Linked DNA regions of Homo sapiens: region 1 is linked to region 2. Evidence: promoter capture Hi-C in human tissues and cell types (Jung and others, 2019). All regions are on one chromosome and are shown on one strand. Each heading gives the region's core, a stretch centred on a gene start or on the middle of the fragment in contact. The rest is flanking DNA. Distances are from core to core; before and after follow the strand shown.

What was found. Contacts are between HindIII fragments. The study calls those that stand out against the background at their distance.
Region 1: a contact is called between the fragment with the promoter of TOMM5 here and the fragment with the promoter of ALDH1B1 in region 2, in 4 of the 25 tissues and cell types used here (heart left ventricle, lymphoblastoid cells, mesendoderm cells and 1 more).

Annotation. Positions count from the first base shown.
Region 1 is chr9:37,590,301-37,594,839 of GRCh38, forward strand. TOMM5 (translocase of outer mitochondrial membrane 5) reads right to left here and starts at 2,297. Exons shown (of 2, transcript NM_001001790.3): 1 at 2,112-2,297. The coding sequence starts at 2,232. RefSeq lists an enhancer at 1,894-2,653 and silencers at 3,612-3,906, 4,306-4,375. The HindIII fragment of the contact is 28,692 bases long and covers 1-4,539 here.
Region 2 is chr9:38,391,192-38,395,811 of GRCh38, forward strand. It overlaps ALDH1B1 (aldehyde dehydrogenase 1 family member B1), which reads left to right and starts at 1,511. Exons shown (of 2, transcript NM_000692.5): 1 at 1,511-1,616; 2 at 4,549-4,620. The coding sequence starts at 4,558. RefSeq lists a silencer at 1,278-1,597 and enhancers at 1,808-1,857, 1,898-1,987. The HindIII fragment of the contact is 12,047 bases long and covers 1-4,620 here.

The DNA.
Region 1 (4,539 bases), core at 1,047-3,546, 800 kb before region 2:
AGGATCACTTACTTGAGCCTGGGAGGTCGAGGTTGCTGTGAGCCATGATCACTGCAGCCTCCACCTCTGCACACTAGCTTAGGCAACAGAGCAAGACCGTCTCAAAAAAAAGAAAAAAAAAATCCGGACTAGACAAATCCATAGAGAAAAAGTAGATTAGTCGTTGTGAAAGGCTGGAGAAAAGGGGGAAATGGGGTAACAATGAATTCGTATGGTGTTTCTTCTAGGGGGAAAGAAAATACTGTCAAATTGTGATGGCTGCACAACTGACTGCTAAAAACCACTGAATTGTACACCTTAAATGGGTATATTGTATAATATACAAATTATATTTCAACTTAAAAGTGAAAATAAACAATTCATATCAAATACAAAGGTCACTGAGAAGCAGCAAATATTTCACTGGCAGCTAGATCAATGAAAAAGGCAGGAGGCAGGAAATAAGTAAATTTGGGAGTTGCAAGAAGCTGTTGAACTAGGATGATACGGGTGTTTCTGTTCCCCAAGACTCGCTCTTCTGTGAAAGCAGAGTAATACCATAGACAGTGAAAGAGACACAGAATAAGGGACATCTCAGTATCAGTGAGCTCTGGCCTAAGCCCAACATGAGCCTTCAATAGGATGACTTTGGTATGGCCTTCATTTATTTGAACCATCCCTGCCGCTCCATCCAGACTGGCTGGCCAATAATATACAGCAAGGAACAATGGAAAGGATACTGAATTGAGAACGAGAAGGCAGGGCATTCGAGAACTGATCATAAAGCTGCTTCCAGTTCTTATATTCAGTGTTCCTATAACTCTGATACCTTCCTTCCTTGCTAAGTCCCCTCTGAAAATCAAGTTCTCATTTGTAAAATGATATAAAGAATCTTAGGCCCTGCCTCCCTCAAAGGTCCACTGTCAAGACTATATAATGGGAGTAACTTCCTGTCAATTTTAAGATATAGAAAAAAAAACCTCAAATATTTGCATTAATCCTATAGACTCATATTCTTTTTTCCCATTTTTTTCCAAAAAACTAATGACTCACTTCACCCTCTATACAAAGAAACAGAAATGAAGCAAAACTTTTTGGATTTCAAAGGTCAGCACTTTTGAAAGGGAAGGAACCCGGCCGCTGGTTCACGCCTGTAATCCCAGCACTTTGGGAGGCTGAGGCAGGTGGATCACCTGAGGTCAGGAGTTCGAGACCGGCCTGGCCAACATGGTTAAACACCCATCTCTACTAAAAATACAAAAATTAGCCGGGCGTGGTGGCGCGCGCCTGTAATCTCAGCTACTTGGGAGGCTGAGGTGGGAGAATGGCTTGAACTCGGGAGGCAGAGGTTGCAGTGAGCCAAGACTGCGCCACTGCACTCCAGCCTGGGCAACAGGGCGTGACTGTGTATCGAGGAAAAAAAAAAAAAAGAAAAGAAAAGAAAGGGAAGGAACCTGGTACTGAGTTAAGAGTTCTGGATTTTAGGTCAAGATCATTCACTGAATCGCTGAGTGACCTTTGGCCAGCCTTCCCAAGAAGGCTGTTTCTTCCTTCTAGAACTATGGTTCTGTTTCTCTGTTTCTCTGTCTGCAAAAACGAGGGAGTTCCTCTAGGGATAATTACTTGAGCTCTTTCAGCTCAAACATTCTTTTTTTTGAGATGGAGTCTTGCTCTGTCACTCAAGCTGGAGTGCAGTGTCGCGATCTCGGCTCACTGCAACCTCCGCCTCCTGGATTCAAGCAATCCTCCCACCTTAGCCTCCCGAGGAGCTGGGATTACAGGCGCCCGCCACCACGAACTCCTGACCCCAAATGATCCGCCCGCCTCGGCTTCACAAAGTGCTGGGTGGGATTACAGGTGTGAGCCAACGCGCCCGGCAGCTCAAACATTCTTCAAGCTGGGAGAACCAGGATGATTAAACACGCGCGCCGGCCACCACGTGCACTTCAGTGCCCGGACCCTGACCCGCAGACCTCAAACCGCGCATATGCCCGTCGCCTTCAACGCGCACCCTCCTTGCTCCCCGCTACCGTTCAGCTCAGTTCGAAGGCCCCGATGACCCCTTAGAGTTAAGGGGTGCCCGTCGGTGAGCTCCCCGCTGGTCTCACAGTCACAGCCCGGGAGACACTCACTGACTCGCAGGAGGGCCACGTAGATGAGAAAGTTCCGTATGGAGGAGATCACATCCTCGCGCATCTTCCGTTTCATCTCCTCCGGGTCCAGCTTCGGCGCGAGGCCCTCAATCCGGAACATCGCGGCTCTGACTTAGCAGCTTCCAGCCGCCGCGCTCTGCTCTCCACGGTGGCCGCCTCGCGCCCGGAACTCGGCCTATCCTCACTTCCTGTTCCCGCCCTCTCGTTGCCACACTCGACGATGGATGCCTGCACGGGACAATCCACGTCCTGACCCAGCTGATCTGAAGTGCGGTGTGAAGCGGGCGGCCGCAAGCTCAGCAACGCAGGCTCTGGTTTCTCCACGCTGTCTTTAATAACATCTGTCATACAAAAATCAGCCCGGCTCGGTGGCGCGTGCTTACAATCCCAGCTACTCGGGAGGCTGAGGCAGGAAAATCGCTTGAACCCAGGAGGGGGATGTTGCAGTTAGCCGAGATCGCGCCACTGCGCTCCAGCCTGGGCGACAGAGCGAGCGAGACTCCGTCTCAAAATAATAATAATAATAATAATAATAACAACAACAATAACATCTATCTTGAGCCTGGAGCGCTGCGCTGTAAAGTGCTTTTACGCGCTGGAGGGGGCTGTGCACATAGGTACCACTGTAAACAGTGATAACTAACATTTATTGAATATTCAATATAATTGTCCCCCGTGAATTCGATATTATAATCTTCGTTTCCTAGATTAGACAATTGAAGCACAGAGATCTTTAAAACATCTTGCCCAAATGTGCTTTAATTTTTATTTATTTTTTTATTGCTAATTGTGGTGGTTGAGACTGTTCTGGAACTCCTGGGTTCCAGGATCCAAGCGATCCTCCCGCCTCGGCCTCCCAAAGTGCTGGGATTACAGGCGTGAGCTATCGCGCCTGGCCCCCAAATGTGCTTAAAAATACCTCAGAGGGGGAAAAAAGTATTGAGAGAGATAAGTGATGTCAGCAAAATATTAAAAACTGCTGGTGACTAGTACTTCATTTTAGTTAATTATTCTAGTCTTTCTTGAGTATGTTTGAAACTTTACATAAGTTAAAACAAAGAGACAAAGATGAAACTTTTTTTTTTTTTTTTTTTTTTTTGGAGACAGAGTCTCGCTCTGCCGCCCAGGCTGGAGTGCAGTGGCGCAATTTCAGCTCACTGCAACCGCTGCTTCCCAGGTTCAAGTGATTCTCCTGCCTCAGCCTCCTGAGTAGCTGGGATTACGGTTGCGCAGCACCACGCCTGGCTAAATTTTGTATTTTTTGTAGAGACGCGGTTTCACCATGTTGGCCAGGCTGGTCTTGGAAACTCCTGATCTCAGGTGATCTGCCCACCTCGGCCCCCAAAAGTGCCGTGATTACAGGCATGAGCCACCGCACCTGGCCTTTTTACAGATTATTGAAGCACAGAGGTCTTTAAAATACTGTTAGCCAAGTAACACAATATGTATAAAGCAAGTTCAAATCTGATCAGCATTTTACAGATGAATAGAAAGAGGCTCAGAAACCAAGTCCAGCTTTGGTGTGAAGCCCTTTATCTGGAACATCGCAGCTGAAGTCTAAAGTGCACTAAAGTCTAGTCATTCTGCTGGTGATGCACGGGCAGGGTTCTAATGCAGATAATTATCATGTCAAGTTGAATTATCTTTCCCCTGCACCCTACTGCTCATCTGTTAGTCTTTAACAGTTAGTGCCCACATGGATGGACATCGCTAGAGTCAAGAGTTTGATGCAACCAGATTTCCTGTCACAGAAGCATCCAAACAGAGTTAGTAGGCTGCTGCCCCAAGTTACGCATGCCAACTAGCCATATCTACTTCTTACACGCAAGCCAGATGACTGAATTGCTCACATAATTCAAAACCAGAATGTTCCTTCTTGACTGCATATTGCATAGCAACAATGGACTTTGGATAAATTAGGACAATAATTTACTATGAGAGCAACTAATAACTATATGCACGGTCAACTTTCTGGTTGACAGAATGTAAGGCACTGGGGCAAGAAAGGGAACTCATCTGCTTATTCCAGCTTTAGCAACCTTTTGCATCTGTAATTCATGCAATGGAATAGCAGAGGCAGCTCTGGAATGGGAGGGGCTGACTCCCAAGGAATAGCCTCCAGCCAACCCTTGGTGAGTGTTTAGAAAGCCTGCAGTGATGTTGAAAGCAGCAAGAACTGCGGAAAGAACATGAACAGGAACACTGGAGACATGGACTCTAGATCTGGCACTGCTGCCAACTAGTGGTGTGATGAGGGACGAGTATCTGATTTCACTGCAACTCCATTTCTTTCTTCTTCTTTATTTATTTATTTATTTATTTATTTTAGACTGAGTTTTGCTCTGTCGCCCAGGCTGGAGTGCAGTGGCGTGATCTTGGCTCACTGCAACCTCTGCCTCCCGGGTTC
Region 2 (4,620 bases), core at 261-2,760:
CTAACTTTTGCAGCAAGGGCTGTGAACATGCTAAGGATGATATGGTAGCAAAAGATTCCATAGAGATGTAGCTTAAGGAAAGAACTAAGTGAATTAGGTCCAAGCAGTCGCATGTGAGCACCCTAGATCAGTGGAGAGGCAGGGATTTAATACAAGGAACTGGGTGCTTACAGACCTGCTGCAAGTGCCGGAGGCAGAAGCAAGCCTTAGCCAGACCAGGACCAACTCTCAGGACAATATGGACGTGGCCCACCAGCCTCGTGCCTGTCTGAGGCTACTTCAGACACCCTCCTGCAGCCTCCATTCAAAGAGCAGGAAGCCAGGTCAAGGAGCGGCTACAGCCACAGCGGCCGGTCCACAGCCAGAAAGCTGGAGAAGGGACAAGGAATGCTGCCGCAGAACATCTCCCATTTCTGCTATCCTGCTAGTGCCACCCTACAGGGGCAGGACAATACCCTCCAATGCGTGCCCGCCTTCCACATCCGGCAGAGTACTACTAATTGGCAGCACCTAGTCCACATCCAGAACTCTAACTGCAAATGAGGCTGGGAAACATGGCGGTTAGCTTTGGGACCTCCCTAGCCAGAAGGAAGGTGCAGCGAGGGTGGAGCGAGTGAGATGCATGTTCAGTGGTCCATCTTGGCAACCTTTATAGCAACAAAATGGAGACAATTAAATGTCCAACAGTTTACCCCTACAACAGAATTCTATGCCACCTTGGAGAGGATGATGTCATCTGTAATTAGTGATAGGAGAAAACTTCAAAATACAGCGCTAAGTTTTTAAATTTTTTTTAAAGCAGCACAACAGAGGTTACTATATGATTTTATTTTTATTAAAATAATTTTGAAAGATGCAGAGGAAACAATACTAGCAGGACGAACACCGTAATAATGGCTACCGTAGGTGAAGAGATTACAGGTGATATTTTTCTTCTTTTTTCATCCTTTCCTGTGTTTTCCAAGCTTTCTACACTGTGCATACATTCTTTTTGTCCTTAGGACAAAAATGTACTTTGAAAAATGCCCAAATATAAAATCTTCTTGAAGGAACTGAAGAAAGGAGCAGTGAAAGTGGAGGACAGAAATTAGTGAATCCTGGACAAAAAAAGTGAGGGAGAGGCGAGGCAGAGAAGGGGTTAAGGGGAGTCTCAAGGATGGCAGTCGATTAAGCAGCGTCTTGCAGCGGGGAGAAATGCAAAGTGTAGTTGGGGTTCGGTCTCCGAAAACTTTGCTGTGTGACCTGGGGAAGCCCCTGCCCCTCTCTGGGTATCTCTGTTTCCGCTCCCAAACCAGTGCCTTAGGAGCCTAGATCTGAGCAACGTGGACACTGGGCTTGCGGAGACCCGAGGGAGGGAGCGCTGAAGCGGTGCGGGCTGCCGGGGGTAGAGGGGCGGGGACCGGGAAAGACCGGGCGGGGCGAGGGAGGAGCGGCCTTGGCCGGCGACAGGACGTAGGCAGCGCCCCAGGCGCAGGCGGAGCCTCATTGGCCGCTGAGCCCCGGGCTGCGCGGAGGCGGGACCTGCGGCCAGCCCTGGGCGGCCATGTGGACAGAGCTGGGAGGGCCGGAACCAGAACCCAAGCGTGATCCTGAACCGGAGCCCGAGCCTGCTGCAGGTAACTAACGCTGGTCTCCCCTCGGCTCCCTCGGGAAGCCGCAGCTCCTGGCTCCGCGTGGGGGCTTTCCTCTCTGGGCCGCGGCGTCCGCATCTGGGGGCTGGCCTTTCCGCCGTTGCACTGTAGGACTCTCTCCACGTCCCCTAATCCCATCCCCCGCCTCTGGGTGACGCTACAGGAGCCCCGAGGACACAGACGCCCCCAGACCTTACCACGTTAGCTCGACCTCAACACTCCTGCCCACTCGGCCCACTTCAACAGAGGGCCCCTGACCATAGCCCAGAGGCTTGGACAAGCCCAAAGGTTGCGCCCTTTCCCCCGCAGAAGGGGTGAGGTGGGCGCCGCTGCAGTTCCCGCGGATAGAGAAGGTCCGGTCCTTCCCGCTGTGGGTGAACTGTAAAAAATTGCCTGTATTCAGGAGGATATGCAAAGCTAGGTTTGTGGAAGTCTGGGGTGAGGCTCCTATACTTTCTTGCTGTGTGTCCTCGGTGAGTCCCTGAACCTCTCTGATGCCCAGCCTTCTTCCAGAATGGGGGTCATCATCAACCCTGACCACCCAGGGACTGCAGAGAGGCTTGGCAAATTTCCCGTGAGAAGACAGCCTGCAAACTGTAAAGCATGATGCTCTGTGAGCTGTGATCTTCCTATCAGCAAGTGGAGGCCCCAGCAAGAACCCCATATAGGCCCCAAGAGTAGGAACGGCCTTGGTGTGGCTGCAAAGGTTTGCCAGCCTTGGCCTATGACCACCTCTCCTGACTGCTTCACCCCTCCAATCCTTACCCCATGGGTTGGTGACTCCCCTTTCCCCTACCTCCTTTTGGTCTCCTCACCCTCAGAGCCAGGCCTGTTGGTGGCAAGGGGGCTGTGTCCCAGCATATGGCAAAGTCCTGAGCTAAATGGAACCCTGGGCACCCCTGGCAGATCTGCTGACTCAGCTTCCCCCTGTGGGATATGATGAGGTTTCTCTTCAAATAATCTGATCAATCTTTTATTCTTTAATTCTTAGTATCCCCCCCTTTTTTTTTTTCATTTTTCTCCTTTTTGCCTTTGTTAGATGCCCAGGCATGCCACAGTACCAAGCGTTATCAGTACCAGCTCACATTCCTTTGCTTATTTGGAAAGAAGACTAACTTTCTAGCTCATTACAGACACCCTTTCCCCTTTCTCTCCACTTTCTTTTACGTGCCCACTCTATCTAAAATAAATCAAATGTTTAGCCAACCGGGATTAGTTTAGATTGTACGACCTGACCCCAGCCAATGGGGAAAGGGTACAGGGGCAGGACTTGCATCAGGAATAAAGGCTCTCGTGCCCCTTTGTTCAGGTGTGCTCTCATGGCAACTGGCCAAGGAGGCATCCCTCTGCGCAGAAGTAAAATTGCTTTGCTAAGAATCCTGTGTTCGAGTGTTCAATTTCCTTAGGATTTTGAGCATTATTCCTAACACCCGCAAGGGGAAGGGAAACTTTCTTGGTCAGCATTGATTATTATTATTTTTTTTAGATACAGTCTTGTTCTGTTACCCAGGCTGGAGTGCAGTGGCACAATCATGGCTCACTGCAGCCTCAACCTCCTGGGCTCAGGTGATTGCCCCCACCTCAGCCTCCCAAGCAGCTAGAACTACAGGCATGCACCACTATGCTCGGCAAATTTATTTTTGTTTTTTTGTAGAGACACGGTTCTTGCTATGTGCTCAGGCTGGTCTCAAACTCCTGGCCTCAAGCAGTCCTTCCACTTCGGCCTACCAAAGCGTTACCAGCGTAAGCCACCACGCCCATCACATTGATTTTTATGGGGCCGGGGACCTACATGGAGCCTTGCTTTCCTGATTGAGTTTTTTGTTCCTCTCCCTGCCCAGGGGTGGAGGGTGAGAGGCTGGGGGTGAAGGGACAGGCAGGTGCAATTCCATTTTACCGCTGGGCGGAGCAAGACTCATGAGACATCAAAGGCAGAGAGATTCAAATTCTGACTGAAGAATAACTGCTTCAACTAATCTGGGAACACTACACTCTGTTTAATTTTCATTTAATATGTATTATATGCCGTTTAAGTTTTATAACAGTAGTTGTTTTAACGAAGTCTACACTCTTCAGAGTTGTAGCTTTTCTTCTCAGCTGCCTCCTGACTTGCTGCACCTCTGGGAAAGCTGAAAAGGGATGCTGAGACCTGTGGTTGGGGGATGCTGGGCTAGGTCAATTTCTGAGGCACGGCCAGTTCTGATGTCCTGAGTGGAGCTTGCCAGGGTTTTTATATGCAAGACATCATTCAACATAACCCCATGAGGCATTTCACATATGGGGGAACTGAGGCACAGAGGTGAAATGAAGCAAGTCCCTCTCAGAGAACAACCATCTCCAAGTCCCTTTGATTTCTACTCAAGTCTTAGGTCAATTCTTAGACAGCCTTTGTGGCAATTTCAGTGTTTTCTCAGTGTATCATTCAGTACTGTGTGTTGAGCCGCTGCTCTGTAGCAGGCATACCTCTAGGCTCGGGGACGTAGCAGTGAATGGAACAGAAAAATAAGTTCCTGTGCTCATGGAGCTTGCATTTTACTGGGGGGAGACAGACAAACATATAAGCCTGTAAAGATAGTATTTGGGATGTGAGATAGAGAAGGAGTAAAGCAGGGTAGCGGGGATAGAGAGTGTTGGGGTGGGAAGGGTTGCAATTTTTTAAAGGGTGGTCAGGGAAGGCCTTGCTGAGACAGTGGCTTTTGAGACCCAGCAGAGGTGAGGGAGTGAGCTGAGGATAGGCGGGACGTGATGGAGTTGGCCCAGAGAGTTCATCAGGGCCCTCACAGCTCTTACAGTCTGTGTTTTTAGAGGTGACAGTCCTTTATGCTGGAATCTTGAAATGTTTGAGCTGGTGGGCCCTTGGGTACCGCCACCTGCCTTCTCCCACCTGTTCACCCTGGTTTCTTTTGTCCCTCTCCAGAGTGTCAGCATGCTGCGCTTCCTGGCACCCCGGCTGCTTAGCCTCCAGGGCAGGACCGCCCGCTACTCCTCG